Linked DNA regions of Homo sapiens: all the other regions are linked to region 3. The links are contacts of gene promoters, found by promoter capture Hi-C in blood cells and fetal thymus (Javierre and others, 2016). All regions are on one chromosome and are shown on one strand. Each heading gives the region's core, a stretch centred on a gene start or on the middle of the fragment in contact. The rest is flanking DNA. Distances are from core to core; before and after follow the strand shown.

The links. The method cuts DNA at HindIII sites, captures the fragments that hold promoters and counts their contacts. A CHiCAGO score of 5 or more calls a contact.
Region 1: a contact is called between a fragment that was not itself captured here and the fragment with the promoter of ST8SIA6-AS1 in region 3, in 2 of 17 cell types (M2 macrophages and M1 macrophages). The highest score is 5.7, in M2 macrophages.
Region 2: a fragment that was not itself captured here is called in contact with the fragment with the promoter of ST8SIA6-AS1 in region 3 in 1 of 17 cell types (M2 macrophages); the score reaches 5.8 in M2 macrophages.
Region 4: a contact is called between a fragment that was not itself captured here and the fragment with the promoter of ST8SIA6-AS1 in region 3, in 6 of 17 cell types (M1 macrophages, total CD4 T cells, naive B cells and 3 more). The highest score is 7.1, in M1 macrophages.

Annotation. Positions count from the first base shown.
Region 1 is chr10:16,820,021-16,822,720 of GRCh38, forward strand. It overlaps LOC105376435 (a long non-coding RNA gene), which reads left to right. Exons shown (of 3, transcript XR_930708.3): 3 at 808-1,237. Among named protein-coding and RNA genes, the nearest start is that of RSU1, 3.9 kb to the left of the region's middle. The HindIII fragment of the contact is 1,317 bases long and covers 727-2,043 here.
Region 2 is chr10:18,222,788-18,225,487 of GRCh38, forward strand. The region is part of intron 2 of CACNB2 (calcium voltage-gated channel auxiliary subunit beta 2); the gene reads left to right. Among named protein-coding and RNA genes, the nearest start is that of CACNB2-AS2, 37 kb to the right of the region's middle. The HindIII fragment of the contact is 2,157 bases long and covers 190-2,346 here.
Region 3 is chr10:17,385,511-17,388,210 of GRCh38, forward strand. ST8SIA6-AS1 (ST8SIA6 antisense RNA 1) reads left to right here and starts at 1,426. Exons shown (of 3, transcript NR_034129.1): 1 at 1,426-1,565. All of the region lies in intron 3 of ST8SIA6 (ST8 alpha-N-acetyl-neuraminide alpha-2,8-sialyltransferase 6), which reads right to left. The HindIII fragment of the contact is 1,777 bases long and covers 1-1,698 here.
Region 4 is chr10:16,863,986-16,866,685 of GRCh38, forward strand. All of the region lies in intron 59 of CUBN (cubilin), which reads right to left. Among named protein-coding and RNA genes, the nearest start is that of RSU1, 48 kb to the left of the region's middle. The HindIII fragment of the contact is 4,192 bases long and covers 1-2,700 here.

The sequences.
Region 1 (2,700 bases), core at 135-2,634, 570 kb before region 3:
CCAGCTCGGTGTCTTACAGTTTAACTTAATTCTGACACTGTCTACCTCAACTTATAGTCAAATCCCACAAGTTAAGGGTTCATTTCCACAAGACTTTAGGTTGACTGTCACCTACACTTCTGACTGACCAGCTATAAATCAGGGTTCCCACACCCCCTTCTCAGGTTTGATTAATTTGCTAGGATGATGGTTAGCCTGTCCAGGGTCCTGATTGCTAGCAGTGAAACTTCATGGTGACACAATTTGGAATCAGGAAACTTATCCCTTGGCCACTAGATCTGGGAAGTTGGCTCAATGTATGTTTCACCAGATAAGAATATTAAGGTTTTTGCCTCAGGACTGGCTCAGGAAATCAAGCAAGATGGAGCTGGGAAGTGTGCTTTGTGAAGCTGGGAGACATCAGCTGATAGTCTTGTATGGCTGTCTTGTTCTCTGCTTTATCCTCAGTGCGCTGAGTACGTATCACATAGCTGATGCTCAATAAACATTTGGAAACAAGTGAATTAAATGTAAAGCAGAACCAGAGGATATACGGTGGGTCTTACGAATGAGAGTACAGTTGACTCTTTTCTCCTTCTTCCAGCTGAATTACTCAAAAACTGAATTACTCAATAACTACTTCCCTTGGCTATACACGAAAATGTCATGCTCCCAAGCCTGACCATCCCTAACCCACTAAAAAATCACTGCTTATTTCCTAGATGCCCAGCCTGGAAGATTTTGTAAAGCTTCATTTTGTCTCTTTTTTTCTGTATTTTTAATTTTAAAATTACATAATAATATTGACTATGCTTTCCTCAATTTCAGGTACACACTTCCCAGATATTCCAATATGCCTCCTAGAAAAGCATGCCCTTCTGAGTGGAAATGATACCGTTACTCTAATGATGCAGTCCATGCTCTAAGCATCATTTTTTTGACAGTGACATCATGTTAATCTTTCTTTCAGAAAAGTACTATGTCATTTCATGTTATTGTTAAACTTTCCCTGTATTCTGTACTTTTGCAATTCATTTTTTGATAAAAGAGGAAGATCTTATATCTGTCACATTTCGTCTGTTACAATTGGCCCATTGTTGTAGCTTATCAAGACCTTTTGGATTTGATGGTGTTACTTATCGCATTCACTGTCCTTTCCAATGTAATTGTCACCCATAAAGTTGATATGTCTATCCATAATACAAAAAGGGAGCAGGAATTGTTGTTGTTGTTGTTTGTTTTTTTGAGATGGAGTCTCATTCTGTAACCCACACTGGAGTGAAGTGGCGCGATGTTGGCTCACTGAAACCTCCGCCTCCTAGGTTCAAGTGATTGTCCAGCCTCAGCCTCCTGAGTAGCTGAATTTTCAAGGTTAGAGTATTTTATTTCTGTGGCTCCATACTCTGTCCAGAAATAATTATCTGCCATTTGAGTATTAGAGTAAGATGAAGTTACATTCCTCAGCTTCTCTCATTCACATGGTCTTTTGTTAATAACCCTTGATTTTGCATAATTAACATAAAGCAAATCTCCTTTGTAAAGGCTTCCGCTTTTCTAGAGGCACTGAAAAACTTTATAAAAGCATTGAATTTTCTTATGAAAAGGAAGCTAATAACTACCTCACTTAGTTACATGTCTGGCAGCATTGGAGATAAGGATGTGCTACTGAACTTTCTACTTCTTGTTAAGTGGCAAACCATATTGTTTATTTATAACTTAACATATTGTGTTAAGGAATAGGCAATGGTGGTGCTTATGGAAACTTTGTACTCCTGAGCGTAAATACATAATAGAGTTTGGATATTTGTCCCTGCTCAAATCTCATGTTGAGTTATAAAAGCCAGTGTTGGAGATCGGCCTGGTGGGAGGTGTTTAGATCGTGGGGGTAGATCCCTCATGAATGGCTTGGGCCATACCCTTGGTGATAAGTGAGCTCTTGCTCTGAGTTCACATGAGAGCTGGCCACTTAAAAGTGTGTGGCACCTGTCCCATACTCTCGCTGTCTTGCTCCTGCTTTCACCGTGTGACATGCCTGTTTCCCCTTCGCCTTCCTCCATGATTATAAGCTTCCTGAGGCTGCCCCAGAAGCCAAGCAGATGTCAGCACCATGTTTCCTATAAAGCCTGCAGAGCTGTGAGCAGATTAAACCTCTTTTCTTTATAAGTTACCCAGTCTCGGGTATTTCTTTATAGCAATGCAAGAATGATCTATTACAGAAAATTGGTACCAGGAGTGGGGTTTTGTTATAAAGATACCTGAAAATGTGGAACTGACTTTGGAACAAGATAATGGGTAGAGGTTGGAAGAGTTTGGAAGGCTCAGAAGACATAAAGATGAGGGAAAATTTGGAACTTCTTAGAGACTGTTTAAAAGTTGCAACTAAAATTCTGATAGTGATATGGATAATGAAGTCCAGGCTGCCAAGGTCTTCGATGGTAATGAGGAACTTAGTGGGAACTGGAGCAAAGGTGACACATATTATGCCTTAGCAAAGAACTTGGCTGCATTCTGTCCATGCCCTAGGGATCTGTGGAAGTTTGAACTAAAGAGTGGCAACCTGGGGTATCTGGTGGAAAAAATTTCTAAGCAGCAAAGTGTTCAAGATTTGGGCTGGCTGCTTCTAATAGCATGTGCTCAGATGTGGGAGCAAAGAAATGACTTCGAATTGGAACTTATATTAAAAAGGAAAGCAGAGTGTAAAAATTTGGAAAATTTACAGCC
Region 2 (2,700 bases), core at 18-2,517, 840 kb after region 3:
GCAGTTGGGCGTGGTGGTGGACGCCTGTAATCCCAGCTACTTGGGAGGCTGAGGCAGGAGAATTTCTTGAACCCAGGAGGCGGAGGTTGCAGTGAGCTGAGATTGCGCCATTGCACTCCAGCCTGGGCGACAGAGTGAGACTCCATCTCAAAAAGAAAAATAAAAGATGTGAAACTTGCCTCAAAAGTAAGCTTTCATTCCTTTGTTAACTTTGTTGCTTTGAGTGTTCTGTGTGTTACATAAATGACTCAAAAATCCCATCTGACACAACTCCAGAAGGCTTTCTGGTTTGCTGTCAGTCATGGGCATATTTATGGGCATGACACACACACAGATGAGCCATTTAAATAGGATTTTGAGCATTGCTAATTTTGCTTCAGAAAGATTTGTTTGATTTTGATGCCTTTTGCTTAATCCCTACATATCTGGTCTTCAAATATGAACTATTAAATCATATATCCAACACCTTCTATATATGTAATACTGAATATTAATAATTGGCATAAATAATTACAACTCCACAGCACTGCAGAAGAGAATGTCATTAAAGAGGCTAGTCAGTAATATACATCCAGCCAATGTTTGTTGAATGAATAAATGAAATTTCATTTAGCATATTTAATTTTTGTGAAAGCAAAAGAGTATTACACTACTAATACATTCCTCTTGTTCCATGAATAATTATTGATTATTTAATGTATTTTACACGATTTTCAGGAGCAATCGTTATAGTAAAAATGTAGTAGTTTTTAATACTTATGCAGAAAAGCACATAAAACAGAATGCTCCTATGTTCCCTTCTTTTTACATTAGGAAACATTTTTTTCTTTATTTAAAAATGAAATTTTTCAGTATAAACTATTATATGGTAACTAACAAAACATTTAAAAGTACTACAGTCTTTTTCTTTCATCACCAGATACAACCACTATTAATATTTTAATTTCCTTTTTAGTTTTTAAAAATAAAGCTGTAATAATATTAAGGAGAATTTTTGTCTTCAATTTCAGAGACAGAATCCTATTGCAGAAATTTTATTTTTAAATTTTCCCTTTGTGTTGCTTTTCCCCCCAATAAAACAGAAACTGCTAGGCTCTTAGAAAATGGGAACTCTTCCATCTAGTGAAATATGTACAGAAAAATAGATAATAGGCAGCCTACCCCTTCTACTAACATATCACTGCATCTTAAACTAAGGGGTCTATTTTTTTTTTTTGTCCTGGGAAAAGTGGACTCATTTTCATATCTAGAATTAATGAGGTTTAGTTTGATAAGGACTGCTTTTAGGTGGCCCTAGAGATGAGTAATAAGGACAAATTAGATATAAAATAAAATATTACTCTTTTGCAATGTTTGCTTTTCCTAAACCTCTTAGCGAAAGTCTCTGCTGTTTCTTGTCTTTTTTGGCTAGAATGGTTTCTAGGACTATGAACAACTGCTTTAAACACAGCAAACTTTCTAACTCCTTTTTATCAGGCTTAAATATGATTAAGACCTACCTTCCGTGTGCCTTCTCCCTCCTCTTCCCTCCCTCTTTCAACTTCTCCCTTCAAAAAAAAAAAAATTCCAATTTCTTTGTAGTCTCAAAGCTCAGCTGATATGAAATCGATTTTGGGAAGTGAGTTTCATACAAAATTAAAGGAAATCCATTTTATTGAAGAAAATTACCCGGCTCCTTAAAGTTCCTCATTTTGTAGCTACTTTATACTTTCCAAAGAATTTCTTTCTCTAACCCACGAAGGGTTGGGACAGATGCTCATATTCTCATTTTACCCCAAGTTAGTTAGCAACTTGGATCAGGTTAAGAAGCTCGTTCTGATAGAACCTGGATGAGAACCTGGGCCCCCTAGTCTCCTGTGTCAGAGAGTAGGAGGTTATGCTTGGGAACAGAAGGCCTACGTCCCACAACCATGACCAGCCCAGCGTTTGTGGGAGTTCAGTCCAATATAGAATCACTCTTTCAAGGTAATAACTTTACTGCGGGCTTTTACGGCCTGCCGAGCCAAATCGAAGTCATGCCATCTCCAGATTGCAGGAGCAGAAACAGGTTAAAGGGCCTCAGTCCTCCCTTAAGGTGGCCTAAGCTCCGCCTCCTCCCTGCTACATCCTGACAGGCACATTCATCTATACCTCAGCCTGTCAATTTCCACTCCCTTTTTCAGGATGAGCCTAGTGTGGACACCAAGGTGTCCGCGTGTTTCGCTCTCTATGGCCCTTGTTCTTTTCTGATGTCAGCCAGCCCTCTGTTTGCTCAAGGCCAAGGCTACATAATTACTTAGCATGGACATTTCATTTCCTTCATTTTATGTGACCTGCTGTTTCTCAGGCTTTTGGCTGCACATAATAAGCTTTTTTTTTTTAAAGTGATCTATTGTATTTTTCCATGTTCTGTTGAGCTGGGAGGAGTCGGCAGAACCTTTTTAATATCAGATATTACAAAATCCCTGGCAGAGGATGGGGGATGGGGGAGGGTAAAGCCTGGAGAGACAGGGCTAAGCAGCTTAAAAACCACACCACTCACTTCCAGTTTATTAAGTCCCTACTTGATGCAAACTTTTCGTAGGTCACCTCAAAATATTACAACAGCCTTTCATGATAAATATTAGATGCCCCATTTTACAATGTAAGAAACTGAGGGTTTAAGAAATATGGCCTGGGTCCAGGACTGAACCAGGATTCGTGACACCACAGGCAGGCTCT
Region 3 (2,700 bases), core at 176-2,675:
TATAGGATTTAGGTAGGTAGTGGAAAATGACAGTTAAAGGGGGTTATTCTCTTGCAGGTGGGGGCAGGGGTCACAAGGTGCTTGGTGGGGAGAGCTGGAGACATATTGTCCAGGAGAAGGAATGTCACAAGGTAATGTCATCAGTAAAGGTAGGAACTGGCTATTTTCACTTCTTTTTGTGGTTCTTCAGTTGCCTCAGGCCATCTGGATGTATAAGTGCAGGCTTGGGCTCAGAAGCCTGACAGAGGTCTCATACCTCCCTAAAATGTATAAAACCAGGCTGTGCCCCAGCTACTTAGGGGAAATGTTGTCAGGACTTCCTGAGGCTGTGTCACGGGCGCATTCTCAACCTTGGCAAAATAAACTTTCTAAATTAACTGAGACCTGTCTCAGATTTTCTGGGTTCAAGTGCCTGTAAACACAACACTTTGGGAGGCCAAGGCAGGAGGATCACTTGCACCCAGGGTTTTGAGACCAACCTGGGCAACAAAGAAAGACCCCATCTCTACAAAAAATAGAAATTAGCCAGCCATGGTGGCACGCACCTGTCTTCCTGGCTATTCAGGAAGCTGAGGCAGGAGGATCGCTTGAATACAGCAGGTCAAGGCTGCAGTGAGCTGTGTTCGTGCCACTGCACTCCAGTCTCGGCGACGGAGTGAGACTGTCACACACACACACACACACACACACATACACACAGGCCGGGCGCGGTGGCTCGCACCTGTAATCCCAGCACTTTGGGAGGCTGAGTCGGGCAGATCACAAGGTCAGGAGTTCGATCACAAGGTCAGGAGCTCGATCACAAGGTCAGGAGCTCGATCACAAGGTCAGGAGCCTGGCCAATATGGTGAAACCCTGCCTCTACTAATAACACAAAAATTAGCCGGGCGTGGTGGCACGCGCCTGTAGTCCCAGCTACTGGGGAGACTGAGGCAGGAGAATCACTTGAACCCGGGAGGTGGAGGTTGCAGTGAGTCGACATCGCACCACTGCACTCCAGCCTGGGTGACGGTGAGACTGTCTCCAAGAAAAAAGAAAGAAAAGCATGTAGTTAACCTGCAACGACATCAAACACAGAGTTTCTTCTCCTTCCTCCTGCAAGGCTCTTGTATTGGTTCGAACCCTGAGAGAACGCCAACAAACAACACAAGGCAGTGTGGAGCAACAGGCAGTTTTAATGAATGCCTGAAGGCAGACCTTCAGGCCATTTCAGGCCGAGGCCTAAAATGGCATCAGCCCCAAATGAGGACGGGCAGGGGTTTTACAGTCTCCCGTAAACAGGAAGTGTTTCAGTCTGTGTATCTACTGCTACGTGATACCCGGTAGGCCTCTCTCTGGGTCTTCAGAACAGCTCTCTCCCCGCTTCTGCTATCTTGCTGACGCACGCTGATGACGTAAGCCGCCTTGCGCCTTGGGACTGGGCCTGAGAAGGGAGGAGTTATTCAGGCCTCCGCCAGCTTCTAGGCCCTGGGGATGGTCTTTCACCTCCCTCTTTCTGATCTCTTTTTCATGCTCCTCCTTGCTCCAAAGAAAAGCCGGATGGCAAAAGAGCCCAGAACCTATTGGTGAGTTCCACGTACGTCAGCCTCCCTGGGAAAAGTCAGGCAGAGATGAAACTGGAGGGTGAAAAGCTATGAGGGTGAAAGTGGATTGAGTGGGCCCAGTGGAAGACGCACAGCACCGTGGATTCCCCTTGCAAGCTTAAGGCCCGCTAGTTGGAATTTAAGGAAAAGAAAACAATAATTTTTTTTTTTTTTTGAGACGGAGTTTCGCTCTCGTCACCCGGGCTGGAGTGCAGTGGCGTGATCTTGGCTCACCACAACCTCTGCCTCCCGGGTTCAAGAGATTCTCCAGCCTCAGTCTCCCGAGTAGCTGGGATTACAGGCATGCGCCACCACACCCAGCTCATTTTGTGTTTTTAGTCGGGGCGGTGGGGCGGGGGGGGGGGGGTTCTCCATGTTGGTCTGGCTGGTCTCGAACTCCCCACCTCGGGTGATCTGCCCGCCTCAGCCTCCCAAAGTGCTAGGATTACAGGTGTGAGCCACCGCGCCGGGCCCAGAAAACTAGGATTTTCATAGGGCTATCCTTCTGTGAGAAACGGAGCTAACATACAGGACTGGACTGCTGTCACATCGATTAACCCAAATCAGAGATCTTAGCCAGTATCAAGCTTTCCTAATAATTTCAAAGATCTGCAGAGAAATGAGGGGAAATGGGGCTAGAGGTGAAGTGAAAAAGTTAAGAGATTTCTGCTGAACTCTAGGAGAGAGATTGCAACTCCTTTTACTTGTCAGGATAGAATAGACTATGATATGATAACAACGCCAAGCTCTCAATTGCTTTACAAAACAAAGGTTTGTTTCTTGCCCATGAAATGCCCACTGTATATCTGGAGGGCCGTCTAGGACAGCTGTGCTGTGTGTGGTTTAAGGCTTTCAATGGTTCATTTTCTGTGTCGACCTGACTGGGCTCAGGCATGCCCAGATAGCTGGTAAAACATAATTTCTGGTTATGTCAACAGACTCAGACAAAGCAGAGACAGGCTTGGGACATCAAGGGTGGACACCCCAGTCCTGTCTTCCCACACTGCACATGGCCCAGGATCGTAGGTGAGGTTTCTAGGTGAGGTCAGTGGGCTTCCTCACACAGCAGGAAACTTTAAATTGTTAAACGGTTTCTCTTTTAGACCCAGGGAGTTCC
Region 4 (2,700 bases), core at 144-2,643, 520 kb before region 3:
ACCTCCCTGTGTAGAGCTTACCCAACAATTATATAAACCAGGATTGAATTTTGAGAATGAGCTGAATCTAGATAAAATCTAATGTGTTCTATATGGTATATTATTATATCTCATTATAAAATATGATTTTGAAGTAGGCACAATTTATCCATTTATTCTGTAAATCACTCATATGGACAATATCGATGGAGTAACAATTGTGCAAGGCCTGGGGATTTAATCAGAATGTAGCTTTTGATTTCAGATTTAGGTTATAAAATGTACTTTAGGATTTGACGGTTAGGTGTCACTGCAAAGTGGGTAGGAAAGAACGAAAAATCACTGTAGCATGATGTGGTCCTGTTGAGAATGTTGATCCCTGCCCACCCCACCCTCAGCCACCCTCCAACCTTGGAAATAGGGTTGGGCGGGGGGCTTGAAAATTTGGGACTTCAATATTACTTTCTAATACATAGAGTCTTTCACTCTGACAGCTAAGGTGCTTTCCAGAAATTATCTGCTTTATCCCCATCACATTCTTAAATAGTTGTAATATTTCAAATTGATCAGTTTTTTAGTAGATAAAAATTGAGATTCAAAACGTTATAGGGCTTTTCTAAAGCCGTATCACCAAGCAATGATATCATGCATCAATCAGCTCTTTCCATCTGGCCATATGTCTTTTTTTCTTTCTTTTTTTTTTTTTTTTTTAGATGGATTTTTTTGCTCTTGTTCCTCAGGCTGGGCACAATCTTGGCTCACCACAACCTTCACCTCCCAGGTTCAAGCGATTCTCCTGCCTCAGCCTCCCGAGTAGCTGGGATTACAGGCATGTGCCACCATGCCTGACTAATTTTGTATTTTTAGTAGAGACAGGGTTTCTCCATGTTGGTCAAGCTGGCCTCGAACTCCCGACCTCAGGTGATTCACACACCTCGGCCTCCCAAAGTGCTGAGATTACAGGCGTGAGCCACCATGCCCAGCTTTTTTTTTTTTTTTTTTTTTTTTTTTTTGGGACGGAGTTTTGCTCTTGTTGCCCAGGCTGGAGTGCAATGGTGCTATCTTGGGTCACTGGGTCACTGCAACCTCTGCCTCCTGGGTTCAAGTGATTCTCCTGCCTCAGCCTCCCAAGTAGCTGGGTTTGTAAGCATGCACCACCATGCCTGGCTAATTTTTTGTATTTTTAGTAGAGACGGGGTTTCACCATGTAGGCCAGGCTGGTCTTGGACTCCTGACCTCAAGTGATCTGCCTGCCTCAGCCTCCTAAAGTGCCAGTATTACAGGCGTGAGCCACCGTGCCCAGCCTACCTGAACATATTTATACATTTGTTGGACTGTAATTCATTCTGTCCTTGTTATATATGTGCTTGGGTATTTTTGCCTTGGTCTCTTAGCAAAGGTCTCTGAACTGACCTTAATGCAACCTGACTCAGTCTCCATGTGACAAATACCCCAGGTGGAGGAAGGCAGACAGTGGCCCTCGTCATCAGCATGTGTGCTCTGGGCAACAGGGGCTGGCTGGGAGCTTTGAGTCCAGGTGAGAGGTGAAGCCAGTTGGACTTCCTGGGTCAAGTGGGGACTTGGAGAACTTTTCTGTCTTACAAGAGGATTGTAAAATGCACCAATCAGCGCTCTGTAGCTAGCAAGAGGATTGTAAAATGCACCAATCAACGCTCTGTAAAATGCACCAATCAGCAGGATCCTAAAAGTACCCAATCACAGGGAGGATTGAAAAAAGGGCACTCTGATAGGACAAAAATGGAACATGGGAGGGGGCAATAAGGGAATAAAAGCTGGCCACCCCAGCCAGCAGCCGCAACCTGCTCGGGTACCCTTCCACGCTGCGGAAGTTTTGTTTTTTTGCTCTTTACAATAAACCCTGCTACCGCTCACTCTTTGGGTCCATGCCAATTTTAAGAGCTGTAACACTCACCACGAAGGTCCATGGCTTCATTCTTGAAGTCAGTGAGACCACAAACCCACCAGAAGGAACCAACTCCAGAAACACAGGCACTGCCACCACTTGTCCCTGAGGGTGCGTCTTCCCCATCTGTCTTCCTGTGCTGTCTGTCCCCCTGCTGTCTTGCAGGGGACACCCCTCAGTCTCTCCTTGGCAACTCACTAATTGAAATGCCTGCAGACCTCCCATCTAATAGAGCCAAGTTCCATTTTCTACACTGAAGTTTTGCTGAAGTGTTATAGAATACATCATTTTAGAAAAAAAAAATGAAACAATGATGCTACTGCACAGTAAATAAATAAGTTTACTGAAAGCCCCTGATCTAACCCTATGTGTAGAAGTTTGATGTGTAGTGTGACATGCATATTGTGAATAGGCCAAGCAACTCTCTGGTATGAGACCCCCTCAGGAAGAACTGGAGGCTCTGATGGTTAAAAATACGTTTGCAAGTGTGAAGTGATTTGTACAGGACACACATAAACAGAGTCAAGGCAGGAGACGACCCTGCTGGTAAAGGAAGGGGCAGCAACTAAACTAGCAGAAGTTAACAGGACAGAAGGTACTTAAAAGCATCCGTTCTGCCTATAGGCCATGCCCACTTAGCCAAATCCACAGAACCAACAGCTTTTTAAACTTTATAGGAGCATAGAAGCCATTGACAATCTGATGCAAACTATGAACTCGGTTAGGAAAAATGCTCCGATTTGCAGATTATTTCAGAGTTTCACAGATTGCTGCAGCCCAGTGTGATCATTTTGCTG